Linked DNA regions of Homo sapiens: region 2 is linked to region 1. The links are contacts of gene promoters, found by promoter capture Hi-C in blood cells and fetal thymus (Javierre and others, 2016). All regions are on one chromosome and are shown on one strand. Each heading gives the region's core, a stretch centred on a gene start or on the middle of the fragment in contact. The rest is flanking DNA. Distances are from core to core; before and after follow the strand shown.

Region 1 (6,913 bases), core at 2,253-4,752:
GTTCCTTTTTTACAAATAGGGCTGGATTTCAACTTCTGTTCTTATTCTTCTTTCCTATTCCCCCTCAAAAAAACTTACTTGAAAATTAATCAAACTTCTGGTTAATCAAATCTTAAACACATACCATAATAAATGTTTTGGAGAATCTAAGAGAGTCATTTTTAAATTAATATATCAAATGCTGCAGTAATATATTTCTATTATGCTGACTATACATAGTATAAAGTTAAAAATTGTTTTGGTGAATTTAAGTTTGTAGTTATAGTAGGAAGACACTAAATTTGCAACAGCATTCCTCGTGATTTAAAAAAAATCTTTTTTTTTTTAAATGAAGCCACAAGCATTCTGCTTCTGTGCTTTTTTATTTTTTATTTAGTTTTTTGAGATGTAGTTTTGCTCTTGTTACCCAGGCTGCAGTGCAATGGCACGATCTTGGCTCACTGCAACCTCTGCCTCCCAGGTTCAAGCGATTCTCCTGTCTCAGCCTCCCAAGTAGCTGGGATTACAGGCACGTGCCATCATGCCCGGCTAATTTTGTATTTTTAGTAAAGACGGGGTTTCTCCATGTTGGTCAGGCTGGTCTCAAACTCCCGACCTCAGGTGATCCGCCCGCCTTGGCCTCCCAAAGTGCTGGGATCATAGGCGTGAGCCACCGTACCCGGCCGCTTCTGTGCTTGTTAAAAAAAGGTTGAAGGGGGAAAATCACAGTAGCTGCCCTCTCTCTGCTTTTAAGAAATGGAATGAGTCTGTGGGTGGCTACCAGACTGGGAGGGCTTGGGGATGCTGACTCTGTGGTGAGGTATTACGCAGTCAGGTTAATTTCCTTATACCACTTGTCAAGTTAGAAGGAGTAGAGAAGATGCCAGGTCTTCACTCATCCCTGGGCATTAAGGGAAAACTAAAGAGCTTCCAAGAGGAAATGCTCTGAGTTGAAGTCAGCTCATTGCGCCGCCTCAGTGTTTGACTTGGCATATTACTACGGGGTCTTTATTTTCTCATTACTAAACTGGGTCATGTAATTGACAAGACAGGGGACAGTCGGGGTGGGACCATTCTAGAAAATCTGTAACTGACTTTTTTTTTTTTAATGGAGTCTCGCTCTGTCGTCCAGGCTGGAGTGCAGTGGCGCGATTTCGGCTCACTGCAACCTCCGCCTCCTGGGTTCAAGCGATTCTTCTGCCTCAGCCTCCCGAGTAGCCGGGACTACAGGCAAGTGCCACCGCACCCAGCTGATTTTTGTATTTTTATTAGAGACAGGATTTCACGATGTTGCCCAGGCTGGTCTCAAACTCCTGACCTTAGGTGATCCACCCGCCTCAGCCTCCCAAAGTATTGGGATTACGGGCGTGGGCCACTGCACCCAGCCTGTAACTCACTTCTGAAGGTCCAGAAATTCCTTGTTTCCTTCTGTTATTTATAGTACGCTACTTATTTAAACCAAACATGAAGTTAATTGACACTTAGCCAGGCAATTTGGATTACCTGTGTGGCTTCACACAGGTATGGGTTGTAGACAAGTCTAAAAATAGAAAATGTTAAAATCCAGCTATCTCAGAAAAACTTGGGTTCATCTCCATCTCCTACCTCCCATATGTCACAAATAGACGCATGGGATGTGAAATGGTAACCTCTGGGTAAGGTGACAAAGGTACTCTAATCTTGGCTTACGTGGACTACACGGTTAATCCACTGAATAACAATCAGCATCTTCATCTGTGTGGTAGGAGAACCGGAGGTCAGAAGGGTAGAGGGGCGGCTAAAAGTACTTTGTTTCTATTACTGTATGACCTTGGACTAGTTACAAAACTTTTTGTGCCTACATTTCCTAATCCCTAATATGGGGTTAACAGTGCTTGCCTCTGTTTAAAAAAATTACTCAGTGATGCTTACTAAAGCATGGTAAGAAAGACTTTATTCAGGACCAACGCGATGGGTACAGGGATCAGGGAAACCCGGGGAGAGAGAGTGGGCTCCAATTCTGAATGCAGCGTCGGCAAGTAGAAATTTATGGCCATGTAAAATCACTAAGAGTAACCATCGGGGGAAGAGGGATTCTGGCTCAACCGATCTAAAGGATTCTTGTAGAACTCAGGCCAGGGTGAAAAGACATGACTGGGGGATAGAGGAAGATGAGGAACCTGATCTGCTATGAGGGGATGGGGGTTCTGTGCTAGAACTGGATTTTACAAGGAAGTGCACAGATGGGCCTAGCATGAGATTCAGAAGCCTGACTAAAGTTTGGCCAAGCAAAGAATCTTTGTCACCTCAGGGCTGTTGTGAGAATTTTAGGAGACACATCCACCAGCCTTGGCATGGGGCCTGATGCAGAGTAAGTGTTCACTAAACTTTACCTATTAACGTTAAAGCACTTTAAGTTGACAAACACTCCACGTACAGAGCTTTTAATGGGGCAAACAAGGGGCAGAGGCCTCAGCTGCAGGGTACTCAACCTCTAAGGAAGGGCGCTGGAGAAAACTGCACTTGCAGAGCCCCTGGCTGGAGGGCGGAGAACCATGTGGGTGTAAAGGGATGGCAAGGGCAGAACGTATGCCCCTGCCCACCTTAGACAGTTGCTAAAGGGTCTCCCAGGCACTCAGCCTAGCCTTTAAGTGAAAGCGGAGGAAACATTTAAAGAAATGAGATAGAGTTAAGGTGTTCGCCTGCCCTCCGCTGAAACACGTGGGGGCAGGTCAGGGGCACACCACAAATGCCCGTATCGCGCCTGTGTGTACCAGGCACCGTCCTCGGAGGTTAACGTGCAGTAACTCACTCGGGTCCCCACTTTCGGCACAGGCAGCAGGCCCAAGGTCACGCAGTGCCAAGGGACTGAGTCAGACCCGAGCCCGCGCGCCGCGGCCCACGGCCTGTGCCAGCGCGCTCCTCGCCGGGTAGGGGGCCTGGTCAGCCGCGTCAGACCTGAGAGTTGTGGCTGGGGGCGAGAGCTGCACCCCCCTACCGACCCCGGGCGGGAATGTTCCAGAACCCCTGCGAGCAGCCGTTGGCCGCACAGCCCCCGGGCCGGCCGCGACCCCGCCTTGCGCCGCGAAGGTCCCTAGCTCCGGGGAGTCGCGGGCGAGGGGCACGCGCACGGACGAGACCGCACCGCAGCGCACGCGCACTGGCGGGCACTCACTCGCCCGCCGCCCGGGAGGAGAAGGAAGGCATGGAAAGTTCCAGCCGGTTCGAGAGCTAGGTAGCAGGCATGGCAGGAGGCGGGGTAGGGGCAGGCAGGGTCGCGAGGGGGCGTGCGGCCGCCGCGAGCCGCTCTGGGCCGCGTCTGCAGCACCGCCCCTAGCCGCGGCCGGCGGGCTGGGCTGGGGTCGGGGCGGGGGCGGTGCGGCGGGTGCGGGGCTGCGGAGGGGGCGTGGCGGCCGCCCGCGGGCGGAGAGGGGGCGGGGCGGCGGCAAGGCGCGCGGGCGGGGCGGGGCGCGCCGAGGGGGCGTGGCGCGGCGTCTGCGCAGCTGCCAGCGCCTTTAAGCCCGGGCTCGCGCTCTCGGACCGTGCTTTCGCCGCCTGGGAGCCGTCCGGCGCAGCAGTTTCTAGGTCCCCACTGTCCCCGCCGTCCCGCCCCTTCGCGTCCCGGGAACCGGCTGGCTTCCGAGCCGCACTCGCCGATCCTCCAGGCATGCCCCGCTACGAGCTGGCTTTAATCCTGAAAGCCATGCAGCGGGTAAGTGACCTTCCCTCAGAGCCGGTCTTCCCGCGCGGGCGCCCCCGCTGCCGCTAGGCCGCCGTCCCCCGCGCGCCCTGGCCGCGGGACCCCGGGCCTTCCTGCACTCCTCGGAGGAGGCCGGGGCGGCGGGCGGGCGGCGGGCGTCCGCGGGAAGGGGGCGCGCGTGGGCCGGCCGGGCCCGGCCGCGTGCGCGCGGGAGGCGGGGGTGTGCCTGCGCGTGTGCGCGGTCCGGGAGGGTGTGCCTCGCAAGCGGCCCGCCGGGCGGGGGGCGGGGCGGACCGAGCGGGCCCCGACCCCGATCCCGGCGCCGGCCCGCGGGAGTCCAGTGGAAGGTCCGCGGGAGGACACGCGCGGGCGCCCAGCCCGACTCCGGCCCGTCCCCGCCAGTCGTGAAGCTGCCTCGTCGCCGGCCCCGCCGCCGCCGCCTGGTCCGTCCCGCTCCGCCGCCCGCCGGCTGCCGCCGACCGCCTCCGCTCTAGCGCCCGCCGGCCGCCCGGAACGTCCGCGCCCAATAAAGCGTTCCTCCAAAGCTTGTTTGTGCCGTTGTCTGTATTCCAGTCTCTTGCAATCGCTCTCATGTTAAAAAAAAATCTTTTGACTTTTCTTTTTCTGACTTCAGCGAAAATCCCGCTCCGGGTGCCCTTAGCCCAGTTTCATTCATCCAAGTTGTGGCCTTTCTTGCGCCTCCAGAAGACACTTTCTTCCCCCTGCTTTTGATTGATCTTGAGGTAGGGGATTTCAGGTTTGGAGGGATGCTAAGCGAACCAGCGGCCCCTTTCAGGTGACGGCGTGGCCAAGGACAGGGGCCCGCGGCCCGGAGGCAGCTCACTTCGTCCTCTGTCCTGGGTCATGTACTCCTCAAGTCGTCGCCGAAATCCCCATTCTCCCGTGAATTCGGAATTCGGTAACGTAGTTTGGTGTTATGTTTTTTTTTCTCCACCAGGTGTAATAAAACAAAAATCATTGTACCACGTCCGAACTTTGTAAGCACAGCTTCCTACAGCGCTAGAGGAGTGGACGCATTTTTACGTTTGAAATTAGGCTCCAGGTCAATTGCGAGGAGTATTACCAAGTTTGGTTGAACTTAAGCTCAATTGATAAACTAACAATCACGGAGCGTCGGGAGATTGTTAGGAAGTGTGCTTTGCATATTGTTAACTGGGAAGGGACGCCAGTGCCTCTCTATGAGGTCCAGACAGCCTGGCCAGGCATGCCATTGTGTCCCCCAGCTTGTTCTTCATGGATTTGGAAGAAGTTAAGATAGTATCTGTTCAGCCTCTTGAATATCCCTTTTGGCCCTCCTCCTTGCTTACCAGCATATGTAACTCCGAAAGGATAGGAGCAGTGAAAACAAAGCATTATTAAAAGGGAAGATTTTTAATTAGGTGGAAGTTGTTTAAGCCCTCCCTTCAACTTACGTGTTTTAGGGAATGTGGAACCTGGGAAATTCGTTACTGAAATTCCTTTTGTTTACTTTCCTTGTCTTGGGGAGGTAGCAGGTGACACTGAAAGAGGCAACCTGTAGGCAATAATATTTGCTCATTCTGTAACCCTTTGAAACCTTTGAAATGAAGACTTGCCCTCCCCTTTGTTTTTGCCATAGTTGCCAAGTATCTTGGTTAACATGGCTGCAAGTATTAAGTGTATTTCTTTTACCATTTTTTTTTATGTCCTGTAATAACATAGCCTTTGGATGTGGAGCACCCATTTTTCACTCTAGTTCAGATCAACAGAGCGTAATTTGGTTAAAATAATAAATAACCTTCCTTGAAATCTTCGCATGAGGGAAGGGGGGCAAAAAAAAGAAAAAAAGCCCTAGAAAGTAGATAATAAAGGTGAACTGCCTCTTGGAGAAAGAGGCCCCATGGCAGTAGATAGAAGGTTGTAACAGTGGTGACTTATGTACAATGGCGAAGTTATGTTGAGGAGATCCTTGACCTAAATAAAGTAATATTAAACAATAGCTTCTCAGTTATTTGTTCAAAAACCTATCTGTAGCTTGTAAATGTGGCACAAACACAAAGACTTCCAGGTTTTAGACCAGTTTGCTTGCTTTCAGTTTAGGAAAATAGGATTCTAAAATAGGATGAATGTTTGGGGGGAAACGAATTTAAAAAGTTAACTCTAGGCTTATGAAATGAAAAATGCGACTGTGAGCTTGCACACCGGTAGCAGGCCTTGGAGAAACCACAGTTCTAACCCGAGGCACTTTGTGCTTCTGTTGCAAGAAGGGTATTGAAGCTCCTCAGTTCAAAGTTGCGTATCTTCCACGTTTTTAGATTCTTAAGTGTATACCTCTTTACCCCTTTAATATGATGTATTTTCCTTTCCTCCCCAAATCATTTGTGCATCTTGGAATTGAGGAAAATGCTGTGTTAGGCAACTTTAACAGCGGATATGGAAGTTAAGAAACTATAGTTTTCCAGCCTTTGGACTCCCAGAGCTGCTCTCCTGTTTTTTCTCCGCAGTACTCAGCCTGGAGAGCATTCTTAGTCTGTTTGGAGAATATTAACTCCTCCCTGTCCTCATTACTTTTTTTTTGACCCTAGCTTGACTCCTTTAAATTGAGCTTGCAAAGTTTTAAAATTTAAAATACAGGCCCTGTGTTGGCTGTCACAGTATCTGGATTGTAGCAAAGTCAGTTGCGGGAATGCCCATTGAAAGATTTCAGAGTGTATTATGTAGAGTCAGTCATATTGAACTATACAGTTGTACAATTAGTCACCCAGAAATTCCAATACTATGTTTTTCTCAGTTTGCAAGTAGAAGTTGATTATGAGTATCTACTTTTGTACTTCCAAGTTTGGGCATTTAGGAATGTAGTTAACTAGTGTTTCTAAGAAGAAATTTATTTTCAAGTACCATATAGCTTGATTTTTAAAAAAGTGTGTATATAAAAAAAGTTATTTCTATTTTCTGTTTTAGCGTGAAAAGTAGGTAAAAGTGTGGTTAAATTCTGAAATATGACGGTAAAGTAATGGATGTTGTGAAACTAGGCCTTTAAAGGTGACAAGCAATTTGAAAAACCAGTTGTTTAGACCAGTCTTAGTTCATATTTATAGAAGAGTCTCTGGAATAAAAAGATTTTAAAAGTCCTGTTACACCCATATCAGATAGCATCAAGAGAGTTTTATTCACTTCTGGAAAACACAGTATTCAAAGGCTGTAATGTGAAAGGACATAGCCGCAAAGGAGAGACCAAGGCTGCAGTCCCAGGTAGCCTCATTTCAGTGTGAGGAA
Region 2 (6,913 bases), core at 2,306-4,805, 270 kb after region 1:
AGGCAGAAGTTGCAGTGAGCTGAGATCATGCCATCACACTCCAGACTGGGCGACAGAGTGAGACTCTGTCTCAAAAAAAAAAAAAAAAAGAGAAGAGAAAATAAGTGTTGGCGAGGATATGGAAAAATTAGAACCCTTATAACATTGCTGGTGGGAAAGTAAAATGGTCACTATGGAAAAGAGTTTGGTGGTGTCCCACTAATTTAAACACAGAATTCCCATGTGAGCCAACAATTCCAGGTTGTATACCCCTACAATCAAAACAGGTGTTCAGATAAAAACATGTGCATAAATGTTTATAGTATCTCCATTCACAATAGCCAAAAGTTGGAAGGAACCCAAATGTCCATCAACAGATGAATAGATAAACAAAACGTGGTATATCCTATCCATACAATAACATATTATTTAACCATAAAAGGGAGTGAAGTATCAATGTATGTTACAGATGGAGGAATCTTGAAAACACTATGCTAAGTGAAAGAAACCAGATGCAAAGGCCCACAAAACATATGATTCTATTTATATGAAATGTCCCGAACAGGCAAATCCACAGACACAGAAAGCAGGTTAGTGGTAGCCAGGAGAAAGGGCCAGGGGAGAAATAGGGAATGACTTAAAGGGTGGTGAAAAACTTCTGGGACTAGATAGCAGATGGTTGCATAGCACTGTGAAGATACTCAAAGCTACTGAATTGCACACTTCAAGATAGTAAATTTGGTGTGTGTTGGTGCACACCTGTAGTTCCAACTACTCAGAAGGCTGAGCTGGGAGGATAGCTTGAGCCCAGGAGTAGAAGGCTGCAGTGAGCTATGATTGTGCTACTGCACTCCAGCCTGGACGACAGAGAGAGACTCCATATCTTAAAAAAAAAAAAAAAAAAATTAAATGTTAAGTTGTGTGTACTCTACCACAATTTTAAAAAATCCATACAGAGGATGCTGTCGCTGAAATATTGACCTCATATTAAGAGTAGCCTGCATTCAGTAAGTGTTCAGCGTGTGCTGGGCATTTTGTGTGGACTATTTGTTTTGGTTCTTACAGGGATCCCAGGAGATAATATCATTATTCCCATTTTGCAGGTGAGGAAACAGACTTAGCTCAAGGGACAGCCCAAATCCCAGAGAGTCTGACTCAGGAACGCAAGCACTTAGCTCTCCCAGCACGCAGCGAGGTGGGAGGGAAGGAGGGAGCTGCCAAGGTTTCCTTCCTTCTTAGGACCATAGGTTAGAGTTCAGGGCACAGCACCCAACTTGGATGGCACAGGGTGCTCCTTCCTGGCCTCGGGCTGAAAAGAGGGCGGCACTATTATAATTGCTTCCGGCTTTTGTCTCTAACATATGGAAAAACAGCGTGGGTAAGGGAGTCTAGAAGGAGACATCCTGCTGAAGCCCGTTGGAAGGACGCCTAAGGTTGCAAGGACCATCGTCCATGAAGGAATAGCTGGTGTTACCTGGCGCCTGAATGTAGGCCCTTCTCCTCTGTGGAGAATGTGGGCCTGACCCCAGGGAAGCCACTTCTTCACCATTTCCCACCCCTGGAGGCTGCAGTCCTCTCATGCCATCACTTCCCATTAGCTTCCAACAATAAAGATCCCAGACTCAGCCTGCTGAGCCAGAGAGATGAGGAGGCATTGGCAGGAAGCCACTGCAGAGGGGGCAGCTGCCTCTCAGAACTGACTTTGGGGTGGTGGCTGGCTCTGTCCCTGCTGTAGCCAACTGGGGGCAAAAAGTCCAATTGAAGGACAAGTTTCAAGGGCGGGTTAGGGTGAGCAGAAAGGATGAGTCCCTGGCAGTGGCTGTCCCAGCCCTGGGCCACCGTGCCTGGGTCTCCAGTGAAATCCCGTCCAGTGGTCATCATCAGAAACCTAAGCCCTGACTCCGGGGCCAGAGGTGACTGTGAGTGGAGTGGACGAACCCAGATGGGTGACCACAATGACCAGAGGAGGGAGCAATGGCTGCTTCCAGATGGGGAGGGGGTAGAAACGCCATTTGAACTCTATCCTGAAGATTCGGCTTTGGGCAGTAACTGGCATCAAAGCCACAGTCCTGAAGTAGGGCAGCATCACTTCACTCTTATCTTTGAGGAACTTTTTTTTTAAGAGACGGGGTGTTACTTTCTCACCCAGGCTGGAGCACAGTGATGCACATGGCTTACTGAAGCCTCAAACTCCTGGCCTCAAGTGATCCTCCCGCCTTGGCCTCCCAAAGTTCTGGGATTACAGGCATAAGTCCCTGCGCCCAGCCAGAAGCTTTCTGATGATATATTATAACTTGGGCCTCTTGTGAGTTACTAAATTGAAGTGGCCAATCCTGTTCAGCTCTCATGCCAGCTTCTATCGATTTGCTATGCCTTCCTGGACCACAGGGTTGAGAAGGATTCTAAGGCTTAGGGGAAAAGATAACCATTGTTGATTAGTAATGCCTGCAGTGGGCACACAGCAGGAGCAGCAGTGGCCGTGGCTAACTCCTGCAGCCTCGGCAGCAGCTCGTGTTAAAACGGTGGCTCAGCTAAGGGTTGGGATAAGCATCCCCGTTATCACATGTGTTCATGGGAATGATTACAAGGGAATCATGCCTGGATAGTCTCTGGAGGTGATGATCACCCCCTTCCATCCAGAAAAATAAATCCTTCCAGAAAGACTCCTTCCTTTCTTCTCCGTTATCTTGTGCTCCCAAGAGGGGCAGCAGGTCAAAGAAAAGGGCAATTTCCTCCTCTTTCCCTGGGAAGGAACCAATGACTGGCAGGAGGGGGCCTCTTTCTCCAAGGCTGTTCTGGAGCTCTTGCTGGCTGAGGGCAGCTGCAGCCACACAGCTCGTTTCTTGACATGGAAAGCTGAAACTTCTCGGATCCCAAGCTAAATACCGTTGCTGCAAAACATCCAGTTTTTCTTTTTCATGGGCCCCTGGTGAATTAAAACCCAGAAGCCAGAGGCCCACCTGCCAATTATTGCAGTTAATTCTGTGCAGGCTTGACTCAGGAACCGAGACAGAGCGTTCTGTTTGCTACCGGGGGTGCGCAGGGCGGGCGGGTGGGAGCCGGCTGTGGCCACAGCGCTGTGAATGCCCTCTGTGTGTGCTGGGCTAGGCCTGGCAGCCACAGTGCCCTCCCTTGCACCGTGAGCTTGGCATCCAAGTGTGACTTCAGTGGGGCCTCTTTCTCCTTGAGTCTGCCTAAGATCGAAGATTCTGTCAGGAAGTTTCCTTCCCTCTGCTACATGTGCAGCCCCCCGCATGCCCCTGAGGAACTCAGTGACAAACACTTCTACTTTTTCCAAGGAATAAGAGAAAACAGCACTCAGCTTAAAACTGTGGGGTTTTTCTGTGGCCTTTTCTCCTCTGACCCAATTGCCTTGCAAGATCCCGCTGGTTTGGGGAGAGAACAGTCACCCTTTGTTCCCTGGAAGCCCCTTTTGTAGTGGGCCACCTTTGAGTTCCAGCTTGGTCTTGCCTCAAGGTGACATCAATGCTGGTTGCTCAAGGCTCTCCCTGCTGGGTTCTTCTAGGGCCTCTTCGGTCGAGTCATTGGTTTATTTATTAGTTCTTTCACTCCTAGGCCCTGGGAAGACTGGAGGAAAAGATGGAGTTCTTGTCCTCTAGGAGTCAAGCAGGAAAGTAGCAAATGGTTGAGTGCTGATAGTGGGGCACAGAGAGCCGAGGCTGGGTTCCCCGGATTAGACCCTGTCCCTGTCCTCTGCATACAAGTCACACAGAGCAGTCCCTGGCATGTGGTGCAAACGTAAAAGGAGGGGCTTCATCTAACTGAGGGGGAGATGCTATCCAGGAAGTTGTCCCTAAGGAGGGGGGTTTAAGTGGACACCTGAACAGTGAGTAGATGCAGCAGGAAGTAGAAATGAAGGGGCAGGAAGGCAGGCTTAGGAGAGGAGACAGGGTAGAAGTCCCCAAGGCACAGGGATCATTCTAATAACTGAGAAATCCAAGAGGCCTGGAGTGCAGACAGCTAGGAGAAGCCCAGCGTAGCATGAGCTAGGGCGGGTGCCAGGCAGCCATGCCTGGCCTCAGAAGCCAGGATAAGAATGTTGGCCTCCTTCTTCGGGATGCAGGGAATCGATGGGATAACTTGAGCGTCCCCAGTTTTGACCACTGCACCACAGCTCCTGCTCTTGTCTTCTGGACCGAATACTTGGCCCCTGGACATCACCTTCCAATGACTCAGAAAGATAAGCCATGTAACAGTGGGGTTGCCTGTGGTGAATACTATACCAGGGCGAAGGCTGGTGGAAAGATCATGAAACCTAAGCCCTGACTCCAGGGTTGGAGGTGACTATGAGTGGAGTGGACTGACCTAGAGACGGGTGACCACAATGCCCAGGGGAGGGAATAATGGCTTCTTCTGGATGGGAAGGGGTTGGAGAACATTTGGACAGGAAACGCCATTTGAGCTGCATCTCCAAGATGAGGCTCTTGGATGAAGGCCATCTGAGTCACAAGACTGGGGGTGCAGAGGTGTGAAGGGAATGGTGGGTTCAGGATCAGCGTTCGGAGGGAATGTTTTATTGGGCTGTGCATCTCCTGACCCTGGAACATTCAAGCCTCCTTACTGACCCAGACAGTGGGTGGCTGATGGGAACCATATGCTGGAAGTCTTCCGGTGGGGCAGGAAGGGGCCTCATTCCAAACCCCATGCTGAGAAAGGAGCTGGCCGGCTCGGACCACTTATTGTCCCCTGCTGGGAGGGGTGACGCTGCGGCTTGCTGGACTATCTCCCCTTTGATGAAGAATGCCATCCTCTGGGATGGGCGGCAAAGAAAGGGCCAGCCTGTGACTTCTGTCAGCTCCCCCGCTGCATCTTAGATGTGCCTATCCTGGGAGATTTCCGGACCAGAAAACTCATCTTTAAAAAGCTTCGTACCTGCCCCAGGTCCCGGGGGATCCCATGTCCCGTCCTCCCCTCCGGCCCCAGCTGCAGCAAATGTCTCCTAACAGGGGCCCAACTCCCAGTAGCCACCTTAATCACATGGCAGGAGTGTCTATTTTCGTTACATAAACAGAGTTGTCTACATTTGGATTCCGGGGCTGGCTACAGGAATTTGTAAACAGCGTGGTGTACGTGTTTCACAGAAAGTTGCCAGGCTGTGCTCTCTTTCCCACTGCCTGTTGTCCAGTTTTCCCTTTTATAGAGAGTCTGGCTGGGAAAGAGAGACAGAACTTATTTGGGAATAGAGGACAATCTCTCAGGCAAATTCCTCTCCCCCCACCCTAGTCACCGCTACCTCCTCGGCTTCAATTTTGAGGTCTGATTCAAAATTAAGACCCTTCTGAATTATGAATCCCTCCTAAATGCTAGCTTCTATAGATATAAATATAAACCTCATGGAAAACAAATTTGGGGAGATTTTATTCCCAGAAGGGTAACAAGGAATTTTGAAGTTTGAGGTAGATTTTAAAAACTCTTGGACACTGCTGTCCCTATCTGAGCTGAGATCCCACATAACATCATGACATTCCACTGGTCTCCTACTTCCCCCAGGAGCTGTCTTGAGCTTGCAGCAGAGGCTTTTAAGGCTCTGGAGTGAGGGCAGCAGTAGCCCCAAGGAAAAGAGGGGTGCCCACTTTTTCCTTTCATTTAATAACCATTAATGAAGCATCTATTGAGATTAGATTCTGTGTTCAGCACTGTGGGCCTGAGAAGATGTTTAACACAAATCATTGGTGTCAAAAAACTGCAGCGAGGCCGGGCATGGTGGCTCACACGTGTAATCCCAGAACTTTGAGAGGCCAAGGCCGGCAGATCACTTGAGGCCAGGAGTTCGCCATCAGCCTGGCTAACATGCTGAAACCCCATCTTTATTAAAAATATGAAAATTAGCCGGGCGTCGTGGTTCACACCTGTAATTCCAGCTACTCGGGAGGCTGAGACAGAGAATCACTTGAATCCAGGAGGTGGAGGTTGCAGTGAGCCGAGATCGCGCCACTGCACTCTAGCCTGGGAGACAGAGCGAGACTACACCTTAAAAATCAGACAAACAAACAAACAAAAAACCTGCAATGAAAGATGGACTTGTTAAGAGTCACTGAGATGGATTTGGGATGGCAGAGTGGATTTGCTGAAGGAATGAATGAAAAATAGGTCTGTGACTGACAATGAAGCCTGTTACAGTGGTTGAAGTTGAATCTGCATCTTAAATTCAGTGTAGGCTAACTTTTGCTCTAACCGAAAGCTAGGGTCACAAGCCATCCTGCTTTGCCTGGGACTAATGGGATACTCAGGACACAGGATGGAAAAGTTCTCAGGCAAACTAGTGCAAATTGGCCACCCTACTTAAAATTCAAAGAAAAGAGAACGAGGAAGAAAACTCCTGTGTAGGAACTATCCAAACTAGGAAAAATAACCATGAGAGGTCACTGGGACATGAAGCATATATGAGCAGTTATTTTTCTCCTTTTATGGGAGAATGAAGAAAAAGAAAATAATCTACCCATGTAGAAAGAAATAGAGGGAAATTAATGAGTTATGAGAAAATGGGCATTGACAATCAAAACAAAAGGGCTTACATTCTTAAAACATTCTCGAACAAACCTGGCATTAAACAAAGCTACTGATACATTTTAACTTCATCTGCACAGATAACTGCAAAGAAATGCATGGCTTTTAATCACTCCAAATGCTGTAAGGGTCTGAACACATCCATTTCCCAAGAGCATCTGTGTTCAGAACAGGTGAAGTTAGAATAAGCAGCGGTTTAAAATAATGTTTAGTAAGAAAAGTTTAATGTTATACCTAGATGTTGTATTTCTTTACCGGTTGCTGTAAAGTGTATCCTTTTTAGAAAGACGTGCAGATGTTAATAGTTAATGATTTTCAAGGAAGCAAGGATGTCTGCTATTTTAATAAAGAGCTTACTGTGCTAGAAATGTCATAGTTAGTCTGGAAGCATGCACCGTGATGTCAG

Evidence for each region. Contacts are between HindIII fragments. The CHiCAGO score rates a contact against its expected background, and 5 or more counts as called.
Region 2: a contact is called between a fragment that was not itself captured here and the fragment with the promoter of MRPS6 in region 1, in 12 of 17 cell types (neutrophils, naive CD8 T cells, non-activated CD4 T cells and 9 more). The highest score is 12.5, in neutrophils.

Annotation. Positions count from the first base shown.
Region 1 is chr21:34,070,076-34,076,988 of GRCh38, forward strand. It overlaps MRPS6 (mitochondrial ribosomal protein S6), which reads left to right and starts at 3,503. Exons shown (of 3, transcript NM_032476.4): 1 at 3,503-3,670. The coding sequence starts at 3,626. SLC5A3 (solute carrier family 5 member 3) reads left to right here and starts at 3,503. Exons shown (of 2, transcript NM_006933.7): 1 at 3,503-3,670. RefSeq lists silencers at 2,951-3,470, 3,761-4,160 and an enhancer at 3,414-4,364. The HindIII fragment of the contact is 10,607 bases long and covers 1-4,201 here.
Region 2 is chr21:34,341,114-34,348,026 of GRCh38, forward strand. No RefSeq gene overlaps it. Among named protein-coding and RNA genes, the nearest start is that of KCNE2, 19 kb to the right of the region's middle. The HindIII fragment of the contact is 2,613 bases long and covers 2,250-4,862 here.